2 separate regions of the Homo sapiens genome follow, and region 1 is linked to region 2. Evidence: promoter capture Hi-C in 16 types of primary human blood cells and fetal thymus (Javierre and others, 2016). All regions are on one chromosome and are shown on one strand. Each heading gives the region's core, a stretch centred on a gene start or on the middle of the fragment in contact. The rest is flanking DNA. Distances are from core to core; before and after follow the strand shown. Region 1 holds the start of NUCB1-AS1 (NUCB1 antisense RNA 1). Region 2 holds the start of FUT1 (fucosyltransferase 1 (H blood group)).

Region 1 (5,385 bases), core at 1,572-4,071, 170 kb after region 2:
CCTTCTTTCCCCTGCTCTCTAGCAACCACCATTCTATTTTCTGTCTCTATGATTTTGACTATTTTAGGTACTTCATGCAAGTAGAATCTTTTGGTATTTGTCGTGTGTGTGTGTGTGTGTGTGTGTGTGTTTGGCTTATTTCACTTAGCATAATGGTGAGGAACTGAAGTTTTCATTCTACTGGATATTAATTTCTATTTCAATTGCCCCATGTGGCTAGTGGCTGCTGTACTGGAGTCCCAGCACAGCTCTAGAGAGGACATTTGGGCTGGATGCGGTGGCTCACGCCTGTAATCCCAGCACTTTGGGAGGCCGAGGTGGGTGGATCCCTTGAGTCCAGGAGTTCAAGGCCAGCCTGGGCAACATGGCACAAACCCATCTCTACAAATAAAATACAAAAATTAGCTGGGTGTGGTGGCGTGCATCTGTAGTCCCAGCTCCTTGGGAGGCAGAGGTGGGAGGATCACTTGAGTCCAGGAATTCAAGGCTGCAGTGAGCTATGATCATACCAGTGCCCTCCAGCCTGGGCAACAGAGTGAAACCCTGTCTCTAAAAAATAGAAAATAGGCTGGGCTCAGTGGCTCACGCCTGTAGTCCCAGCACTTTCGGAGGCCAAGGCAGGCAGATCAGGAGCTCAAGAGATCGAGACCATCCTGGCCAACATAGTGAAACCCCGTCTCTACTAAAAATACAAAAATTATCTGGGCATGGTGGCACGCACCTGCAGTCCCAGCTACTCAGGAGGCTGAGGCAGGAGAATCACTTAAACCCTGGAGGTGGAGGTTGCAGTGAGCTGAGATCATGCCACTGCACTCCAGCCTGGCAACAGAGCGAGACTCTGTCTCAAAAATAAATAAACAAATAAATAGGCCCGGCGCAGTGGCTTACCCCTATAATCCCAGCACTTTGCGAAGCCAAGGCGGCTGGATCCCTTGAGACCAGGAGTTCAAGACCAGCCTGGGCAACATGGCAAAACCCCATCTCTATGAAAACAAATACAAAAATTAGCTGGGTGTGGTGGCGTGCATCTGTAGTCCCAGCTACTTGGGAGGCTGAGGTGGGAGGATCACTTGAGCCGAGGAGTTCAAGGCTTCAGTGAGCTACGATCACACCATTGCACTCCAGCCTGGGTGACAGAGTGAGACCCTGTCTCTAAAAAATAAAAAAATAAAAACCTTATTTAATCTTTTTAATCAGGCAGTCCCTACAGACCAGAATAGGTTCAGAGCAACTCCCTATACCTTTTTTTATTTTTCATTTTTTTTATTTTTAGAGATGGGGCTTCCCTTTGTCACCCAGGCTGGAGTGCAGTGGCGTGATCATGGCTCACTGCAACCCAGACCTCCTGGGCTCAAGTGATTCTTCCACCTCAACCCTTAGAGTAGCTGGGATCATAGGTGCACACCACCATGCCCAGCCAATTTTTAAATTTTTTTTTTCTTTTTGAGGCAGAGTCTTGCTCTGTTGCCCAGGCTGGAGTGCAATGGCATGATCTTGGCACACTGCAACCCCCGCCTCCCAGGTTCAAGCTATTCTCCTGCCTCAGCCTCCTGAGTAGCTGGGGTTACAGGCACTTGGCATTATGCCTGGCTAATTTTTGTATTTTTGTAGAGACGGGGTTTTACTATGCTGGCCAGGCTGGTCTTGAACTCCTGACTTCAGGTGATCCTCCTGCCTCGGCCTCCCAAAGTGCTGGGATTACAGGCGTGAGCCACCGCACCCGGCCCAATTTTTTACTTTTTTTTTTTTTTTTGTAGAGACGGGGTCTAGCCATCTTTTCTAAGCTGGTCTCGAACTTAATGTGCTCAAATGATCTTGCCTTAGCCTTCCAAAGTACTGGGATTACAGGCATGAGCCCCTAAATTTGGCCCCTACATTTTCTTTAATCTTAATCAATTTACATTTAAACAGCCCATGTGGCTAGCGGCTACTGTACTGGACAGCGCAGATCCAGAGTTTAGGCAGAGAAGAGACCCCCAGGCCTGAGCCCTGGGCCACACTAGCATGTGGAGGTCAGGAAGAGGATGGAGCCGTCAAAGGAGGTGGAGGGGCAGCCAGAGAGGACAGAATCATGTTCTGGAAGCCAAGGGCAGAAAGTCAAGTCAGATGCAGGTGGAAATTAACCACTGGATTTGCAAGATGAGGGTTCCTGGCCTCCTCCTCAGGAGGAAGGTTGTGCTTGTCTGAGGGAGCCGAGGAAGGAGGGCCGGTGGTGAGGACAGGAAGTGTGGCTGACCGAGCCTGAAGCCCTGCAGCTGTGGGGTCTACGTTGGTAGGAGAGGCTCCCCTCACAACTGGAGTCGGCACTGGCCTGGTTGTCTGGGAGGCAGAGGTCCCTGATAACCCTGGAGCTGACTCTGTGTCCAGAGCACTGAATGCCAGGGCCAGAGAATCCTGCATGACAGTGACCCAAGCATGTTTCCTCGAACCCTCCCTTTGATCTATTCCATTCTCAACCCCCTGGTCGCTAGGCAGTGGCCCTAGCAACGGGTCTAGTGGGGTACTAAAGCCTGGGGGCCACCGTTCCACCGCGGGAGACCCGTAGTTACCTGTCCTCTGATAACAGACCCCACATCAGCCCAAAATTTCTTCACCAGGGACCTTACACATCCCGTCCTCGGTCCCCTGAGATACCTTGCTATCCTCTTCCCTTCAGATATCAACAGTGATGGTGTCCTGGATGAGCAGGAGCTGGAGGCACTCTTCACCAAGGAGGTGAGCATCTTGGAAGCCTCGGGCACCTGGAGGGACGCCCAAATCAGCCACTTGTTTCCTCCTGCAGTCCCCTTAAATCCCCCTGGATGGGAGCTCAGTGAAAACTACAACTCCCATCAGCCCCTGGGGCAAAAACGGCTCCCAGGAGTGGTAGCGTGCCCAAAGGACTGCTGGGAGTTGAAGTTGTCGGGAATGAGCTCGCTGGGGACCTCTCAATGCTGTCTGCCTCTCGCTTGCTCCTGCAGCTGGAGAAAGTGTACGACCCAAAGAATGAGGAGGACGACATGCGGGAGATGGAGGAGGAGCGACTGCGCATGCGGGAGCATGTGATGAAGAATGTGAGGTGGGGGCCAGGCGGGGGAGAGGACGGGCCCCCAGCTCTGTCACTCACCCTTATCTGGCTCCCCAGGTGGACACCAACCAGGACCGCCTCGTGACCCTGGAGGAGTTCCTCGCATCCACTCAGAGGAAGGAGTTTGGGGACACCGGGGAGGGCTGGGAGGTGAGAACATGGGGGATACTCGGGGTCCTGAACCTCTCTCTCTTCTAGCCATGACCTTTCTTTCAGAATCTTAGGCCCCTTCTCTTTCTCTCTGGGTCCCCGTCCATTCTCCTGGGTCACTGCATCTCTATCTCTGGGTCTCTGTTTTCCCCTGTCTCTAGGACTCTTATTTATTTATTTATTTATTTATTTATTTATTTATTTATTCTGAGACGGAGTCTCACTCCATCGCCCAGGCTGCAGTGCAGTGGCACGATCTCGGCTCACTGCAGCCTCCACCTCCCAGGTTCAAGCAATTCTCCTGGCTCATCCTCTTGAGTAGCTGGGATTATAGGTGCGTGCCACCACACCCAGCTGATTTTTGTATTTTTAGTAGAGGCAGGATTTCACCATGTTGGCCAGGCTGGTCTCAAACTCCTGACCTCAGGTTATCCACCCACCTTGGCCTCCCAAAGTGCTGGGATTAGAGGTGTGATTTTTTTTTTTTTTTTTTTTTTTCTGAAACAGGGTCTTGCTCTGTCGCGTAGGCTGGAGCCCAGTGGTGGGATCTCGGCTCACTGCAACCTCCGCCTCTTGGATTCAAGCGATCCTCCCATCTCAGCCTCATGAGTAGCTGGGATTACAGGCGTGAGCCACCATGCCTGGCTAATTTTTGTATTTTTTGTAGAGATGGGGTTTTGCCATATCGGCCAGGCTGCTCTAGAACTGCTGGACTCAAGCGATCCACCTGACCTGGCCTCCCTAAGTGGTGGGATTACAGGCATGCACCACCGCACCACACCTAGCTAATTTTTGTATTTTTTGGTAGAGACAGGGTTTTGCATGTTGGCCAGGCTGCTCTGAAACTCCTGGACTCAAGCTATCCACCCTTCTCAGCCTCCCAAAGTGCTGGGATTACCCAGGCTGGAGTGCAGGGGTGTTATCATGGCCCACTGCAGCCTCAAACTCCTGTCCTCAAGTGATCCTCCTGCCTGAGCCTCCCTATTAGCTGGGACTACAGGCACATGCCAGCATGCCTAGCTAATCTAGCTCATTCTTTTATTTATTTATTAATATTTTTTGAGACAGGGTCTCCTGTCACCCAGGCTGGAGTGCAGTGGTGTAATCATAGTTCACTGCAGCCTTGAATTCCTGGGCTCAGGTGATCCTCCTTCCTTAGCCTCCTGAGTAACTGGGACTACAGGCACATACCACCATGCCCAGCTAATCTAGGTCTCTGTTTTATTTATTTATTTATTTGTTTGTTTATTTTTCAATACAGAGTTTTGCTCTTGTTGCCCAGGCTGTAGTGCAATGGTGCATTCTCAGCTCATTGCAACCTCCACCTCCCAGGTTCAAGCAATTCTCCTGCCTCAGCCTCCTGAGTAGCTGGGATTATATGCATGTACCACCATGCCCTGCTCATTTTGTATTTTTAGTAGAGACGGGGTTTCTCCATGTTGGTCAGGCTCATCTCAAACTACTGACCTCAGGTGAGCCACCCACCTCGGCCTCCGAAAGTGCTGGGATTACAGGTGTGAGCCATGGTGCCTGGCCTATTTCTATATATTTTTCAAGATGCCCAGCCAATTTTCTGTAGAGACAGGGTCTCGCTCCGTTGCCCAGGCTGACCTTGAACTCCTGGCGTCAAGTGATCCTTCCCACTTTCGCCTCCCAAAGTCCTGGGATTACAGGTGGGAGCCATGGTGCCCGGCCTTGTCTCTCGGTCTTTATCCCACTCCCACCTCCCACTTGGGCTTCTTTGCCCACCCACATGGCCCTGGCCTCCCAGCCTCCTCTACACCTCCCCCATTGGCACAACCCTCTCCAACATGGGTGGGCCGAGGTTGGACCTGTGCCCCTGATGGCCCCTGTGCCTGCCCTGCAGACAGTGGAGATGCACCCTGCCTACACCGAGGAAGAGCTGAGGCGCTTTGAAGAGGAGCTGGCTGCCCGGGAGGCAGAGCTGAATGCCAAGGCCCAGCGCCTCAGCCAGGAGACAGAGGCTCTAGGGCGGTCCCAGGGCCGCCTGGAGGCCCAGAAGAGAGAGCTGCAGCAGGTGACAGCGGGGGAAGCTGCTTCCATCCACTGAATCTCTGGCTGCCCGTGTCCGTGTCCCCATGGGTGTCCAGAAGCTGGGAAGGCCTGTGGCCACCATGTTAATCACTGGGGGAGCCTCAAGTATTCAC
Region 2 (5,127 bases), core at 1,369-3,868:
CGTCCCCCTTCTCTCCAACTCTCCCAACTAGAATCACTCTGGATACGGGCACCCATTTGCTTCAGGAACACCACAAGCTTCTCCAGAAGATGCCAGGCCTCTGAAGCCACGTACTGCTGGCTCTAGAAAGATCAGGCTACTTCAGAAAGTCTCCCTGGCTCTCAAGGCTTAGCCAATGTCCAGAGTGGAGACAAGTCTGCATTAATGCCCACCCACTCGGGCAGGAAGGCCGCCTCCGGCTTAAAGATCTTCAGGAACTCAGAGTCTGGCAGGGTGAAGTTGGCCAGGTAGACAGTGTCTCCGCCAGCCAGGTAGGCAGCCCAGAAGCCGAAGGTGCCAATGGTCATAATGGTGTGGTTGCACTGTGTGAGCAGGGCAAAGTCTTTCCACGGTGTAGCCTCCTGTCCATCGCCAGCAAACGTCACATCGCCCTGGGAGGTGTCGATGTTTTCTTTACACCACTCCATGCCGTTGCTGGTGACCACGAAAACGGGGGCTTCGTGCCGTGCCCGGAACCAGTCCATGGCCTGCCGGAGGTAGGCGCTGTCGCCCACCACACCCTTCCAGCGCTGAGGCATAACCTGCAGATAGTCCCCACGGCGCACGTGGACGCCGACAAAGGTGCGCGGGCGGTCCCCTGTGCGGCCCAGGCGGAGCTGACCCAGCACACTCTGCGCCTCTTCCCGAAGGTGGTCGTGCAGGGTGAACTCTCTGCGGATCTGTTCCCGGAGATGGTGGAAGAAAGTCCAAGAGCAGGGGAAGCCAGAGAGCTTCAGGAAAGGATCTCTCAAGTCCGCGTACTCCTCCGACATCCAGTCGTGAAGCTGCAGCTCCCGCCACGGCGTGCGGCTGTCCACTTCTGGGGCCAGCACGGGCAGGGTGATGCGGAATACCGGGGCCAGGGCGGCATGCATGGCAGGCAGGATAAAGGCCCGGCGGCCGTTGAGCTGGGCCAGAGCCAGCAGCGTGGCATACTGTCCCATCTGATTACCAAACCGGCCATTGGGGTAGACAGTCCAGGTGCCGGAGAGGGAAGCAGGGTGCTGGGGACAGGAAGAGGAGGCGTTGGGGCCCATCGCAGTACCCGGCAGGCAGAAGATGGCCACTGGGGGTGTCACCAGGCGGCGGTCTGGACACAGGATCGACAGGCCTAGGCCATGTGGAAAGCTGTCTTGATGGATATGGAGGAAGAAGATTACAGAGAGGACACAGACTAGCAGGAAGGCCAGGCAGAGCTGACGATGGCTCCGGAGCCACATGGCTGCAGGGGAGGAAAGGCGAATTAGCAAATGCTCTGAGGCTGAGGAGGGGAGGCTGAGGAGGGATGTGGGGTAAGGGAGGCGCCTGGGGTGCAGCACTCCTTAGTCCCAGGGAAAGAGGAAGTTAAAGGTTTAGACTCCTGGGGCTGAGGTAGGGAGAGCCTGAGTCCTAGGTTTCAGGGATGAGAGCCTTGGAATTTCGGGGCATGGGGACTGGAAGACAAGTGGTTTTCAAGATAGCCATGGTTTGGCTGGGCACTGTGGCTCACACCTGTAATCCCAGCATATTGGGAGGCTGAGATGGGAGGATCCCTTGAGCCCAGGAGTTCAAGATCAGCCTGGGCAACAGAGCACTCTTACAAAAAAATTTTAAAATTAGCTTGGCATGGGCCAGGCGCGGTGGCTCACACCTGTAACCCCAGCACTTTGGGAGGCCAAGGTGGGTGGATCACCTGAGGTTGGGAGTTCGAGACCAGCCTGACCAACGTGGAGAAACCCTGTCTCTACTTAAAATACAAAATTAGCCGGGCATGGTGGCGCATGCCTGTAATCCCAGCCACTCGGGAGGCTGAGGCAGGAGAATCGCCTGAACCCGGGGGGCGGGAGTTGCGGTGAGCTGAGATCATGCCATTACACTCCAGCCTGGGCAACAAGAGTGAAACTCCGTCTCCAAAAAAAAATAAATAAAATTAGCTTGGCATGGTGGCACATGTCTGTGGTCTCAGCTACACCGGATGCTAAGGCGGGAGGATCCCCGGAGCTCACAATGAGCCGCGATAGCACCGCTGACTGCACTCCAGCTTGCGCGACAGAGAGGGACCCTGTCTTAAAAAAAAAAAAAAAAAAAAAAAAAGAAAGTGGTCCAGGTTCCTACACCTTTCCTGAAGGAATCTCGAGTCTCCCCTCCTGTAAGTTCCGCTGATACTGGACTCTTCCACCAGCCTGTTTCTCAGGAGTACCTGTCTGTGAGGCGCAAAATCCACCACAGAGGTGGTGATGGGAAACGATAGTTCAAGTAAAACAAGAGAGGCTGGAGGGTCAGGAGCGGAAGGAGCATCTTGGTTCCTGGAGGAGTAATGGCTGGGGAGGTGGCGGAGATTCCTAGGGCCTTAGGAAGACCTGGAGAAGAGGTTGGGGGTGCACCTCCTGGTTCTGAAGGAGTTGTTCCTGGGTCCCAGGAACAACTGAGTGGGGCAGTCCCCACTTACCCGAGCTGCTTGCAGGTGGCAGATCCACAGTCCGCTTTTCGTGGCCGGAGCGCACCCTCCGCAAAGGCAGGCCACATCCGGCCGCCCCTGGAACGCCAGGCGTCCGGCTATCCGGCCCGGCAGCCCTCCCCTCCGCGCAGCCTGTCCGGACTGGCAGCGAGGGCTTGGGGAGGAGAGGAAGGAGAGGGCGCGGCCGGGAGTCTCGCAGCGTCCGCCCTCCCGGGCCGGGCGGATGGCTGGAAGGTGGAGCCCCGCCCGTCACTTGGCGCCGAGCCCCAGCGCCAGGGGCTAAGGCGATGGCCCCTGGGCCCACCGCTCCCCAGATCGGGGATGCAGGGGACCGCGCCCTGCCCCTCCGCCCCGTCATTGACCTGCGCGAAGGCTTCACCCAGGGCAGGCTACCTGGCTTCTGAGCAGCCGCAGCATCATTGCGTGGACCAGGAGACGGAGCGCCCAGTTGCAATGCTGGAGCCGGGAGGTCCAATCCGCCGCCCTCTCTCTTCCGGTGCCAGGGCTTAGAGTCGGCCCCCGACACCTGGGTGCTTCGAGCCTGGCCACGCCCCAGCGGCTGGGCAGGGCCCCCGCACCTGGTCCCGGCGAGTGGAGCGATCGTCCGCCCTCTGCCGCGTCCTCCTGGGGGATGGAGAACCTGTTTGCCAGGCTGCCGCCGGAGCGCGCGAGGGCCTCCAGCCTGCAGGTGCTCCCGCGCCCACCAGGGTCTCCGATCTCCCACACCCCCCGCCTCACCGTCCACACTCAAATTCCAGAATCCCAGCCCCTAGTCACTCCTTTTGGGGAATTCTAGGGTCCCGTGCCAAACTGCTACTTTCCAGACCTGCACTGCACGAAGGCAACCATTCCAAGGCTGGAGACCGGAGTGGAACAGGGTCTGTTTCCCACGCCGTCAGCGGGGGCCGTGGCTGCCGGCGCCAGAGACAAAGGCCTCTGCCCGCTTGTCACCTAATTAAAGCATTTTCTCTGGTCCAAGGCCCACCTCCAGCATCGCCAACCCCGAGCAGGGCAGGCTAACGTAGGGTCCAGCCCTACGGGGCTTTGCGGGTGGGTGTTCTTCCCCTGTGAGGAGAGGAGAGATTGTAAGAAATAAAGACACAAGACAAAGAGATAAAGAGAAAACAGCTGGGCCCGGGGGACCACTACCATCAAGACGCAGAGACCGGTAGTGGCCCCGAATGGCTGGGCGCGCTGATATTTATTGTATACAAGACAAGGGGGGGCAGGATAAGGAGGGTGAGTCGTCCAAATGACTGATAAGGTCAAGCAAGTCACGTGATCATGGGACAGGGGGCCCTTCCCTTTTAGGCAGCCGAAGCAGAAAGAGAAGGCAGCATATGTCAGCGTTTTCTTCTCTGCACTTATAAGAAAGATCAAAGACTTTAAGACTTTCACTATTTCGGGCGGGCGCGGTGGCTCACGCCTGTAATCCCAGCACTTTGGGAGGCTGAGGCGGGCGGATCACAAGGTCAGGAGGTGGAGGCCATCCTGGCTAACACGGTGAAACCCTGTCTCTACTAAAAATACAAAAAATTATCCGGGCGCGTGGTGGAGGGCGCCTGTAGTCCTAGCTATTTGGGAGGGTGAGGCAGGAGAATGGTGTGAACCCAGGAGGCGGAGATTGCAGTGAGCCGAGATCACGCCACTGCACTCCAGCCTGGGGGACAGAGCGAGACTCCGCCTCAAAAAAAAAAAAAAAAAGGCTTTCACTATTTCTTCTACCGCTATCTACTACGAACTTCAAAGAGGAACCAGGAGTACGGGAGGAAAATGCAAGAGGACAAGGAGCGTGACCATTGAAGCACAGCACAGCAGGATGACTGCGGGCAGGCCTAGATAATACCCAGCCTCCCACAAGAAGCTGGTGGAGCAGAGTGTTCCCTGACTCCTCCAAGAAAAGGAGATTCCCTTTCGTGGTCTGCTGAGTAACGGGTGCCTTCCCAGACACTGGCGTTCCCGCTTGACCAAGGAGCCCTCAAGAGGCCCTTATGCCGGTGTGACAGAAGGCTCACCTCTTGCCTTCTAGGTCACTTCTCACAATGTCCCTTCAGTACCTGACCCTATACCCACCGGTTGTTTCCTGGTTATATTAGTTATACAACAAAGAATAAAAGTAATAGCTAATGATTAATAATGTTTACACTAATGATTGATACTGTCCATGATCATCTCTATATCTAATTTGTATGATAACTATTCTTATTCTAACTATTTTCTTTATTATACTGAAACAGTTTGTGCCTTCAGTCTCTTGCCTCGGCACCTGGGTAATCCTTCCCCACAGACTGACCCTCCCATTCAAGATACATCAATGTCAAAGACTCAGGAGTTTGACTTGATTCCCAGAAGTTTAACCATCATCTCCCCAGGCTCGGGACTCCCAGCACCCAGACCCTTCTGCTCACACCCAGCAGTCCAGGCCCCCAGACCCTCCTCCCTCAGACTTAGGAGTCCAGGCTCCCGGCCCCTCCTTCCTCAGACCCAGGAGTCCAAGCCCCCTGCCCCTCCTTCCTCAGACCCAGGAGTCCAGGACCCCAGCCCCTCCTTCCTCACACCCACGAGTCCAGATCCCTAGCCCCTACTCCCTCAGACCCAGGAGTCCAGACCAAAGCTCCCTCCTCCCTCAGACCCAGGAGCCCAAGTTCCCC

Evidence for each region. Contacts are between HindIII fragments. The CHiCAGO score rates a contact against its expected background, and 5 or more counts as called.
Region 1: the fragment with the promoter of NUCB1-AS1 here is called in contact with the fragment with the promoter of FUT1 in region 2 in 2 of 17 cell types (naive B cells and monocytes); the score reaches 5.4 in naive B cells.

Annotation. Positions count from the first base shown.
Region 1 is chr19:48,916,070-48,921,454 of GRCh38, forward strand. NUCB1-AS1 (NUCB1 antisense RNA 1) reads right to left here and starts at 2,822. Exons shown (of 2, transcript NR_046633.1): 1 at 2,635-2,822. It overlaps NUCB1 (nucleobindin 1), which reads left to right. Exons shown (of 13, transcript NM_006184.6): 8 at 2,657-2,715; 9 at 2,961-3,053; 10 at 3,125-3,217; 11 at 5,085-5,255. RefSeq lists an enhancer at 3,021-3,520. The HindIII fragment of the contact is 8,372 bases long and covers 1-5,385 here.
Region 2 is chr19:48,750,023-48,755,149 of GRCh38, forward strand. It overlaps FUT1 (fucosyltransferase 1 (H blood group)), which reads right to left and starts at 2,619. Exons shown (of 2, transcript NM_001384359.1): 1 at 2,468-2,619; 2 at 1-1,261. The coding sequence starts at 1,259. The coding sequence ends at 162. RefSeq lists enhancers at 976-1,615, 2,821-3,407, 4,724-5,127, a silencer at 2,656-2,705 and a promoter at 5,105-5,127. The HindIII fragment of the contact is 14,557 bases long and covers 76-5,127 here.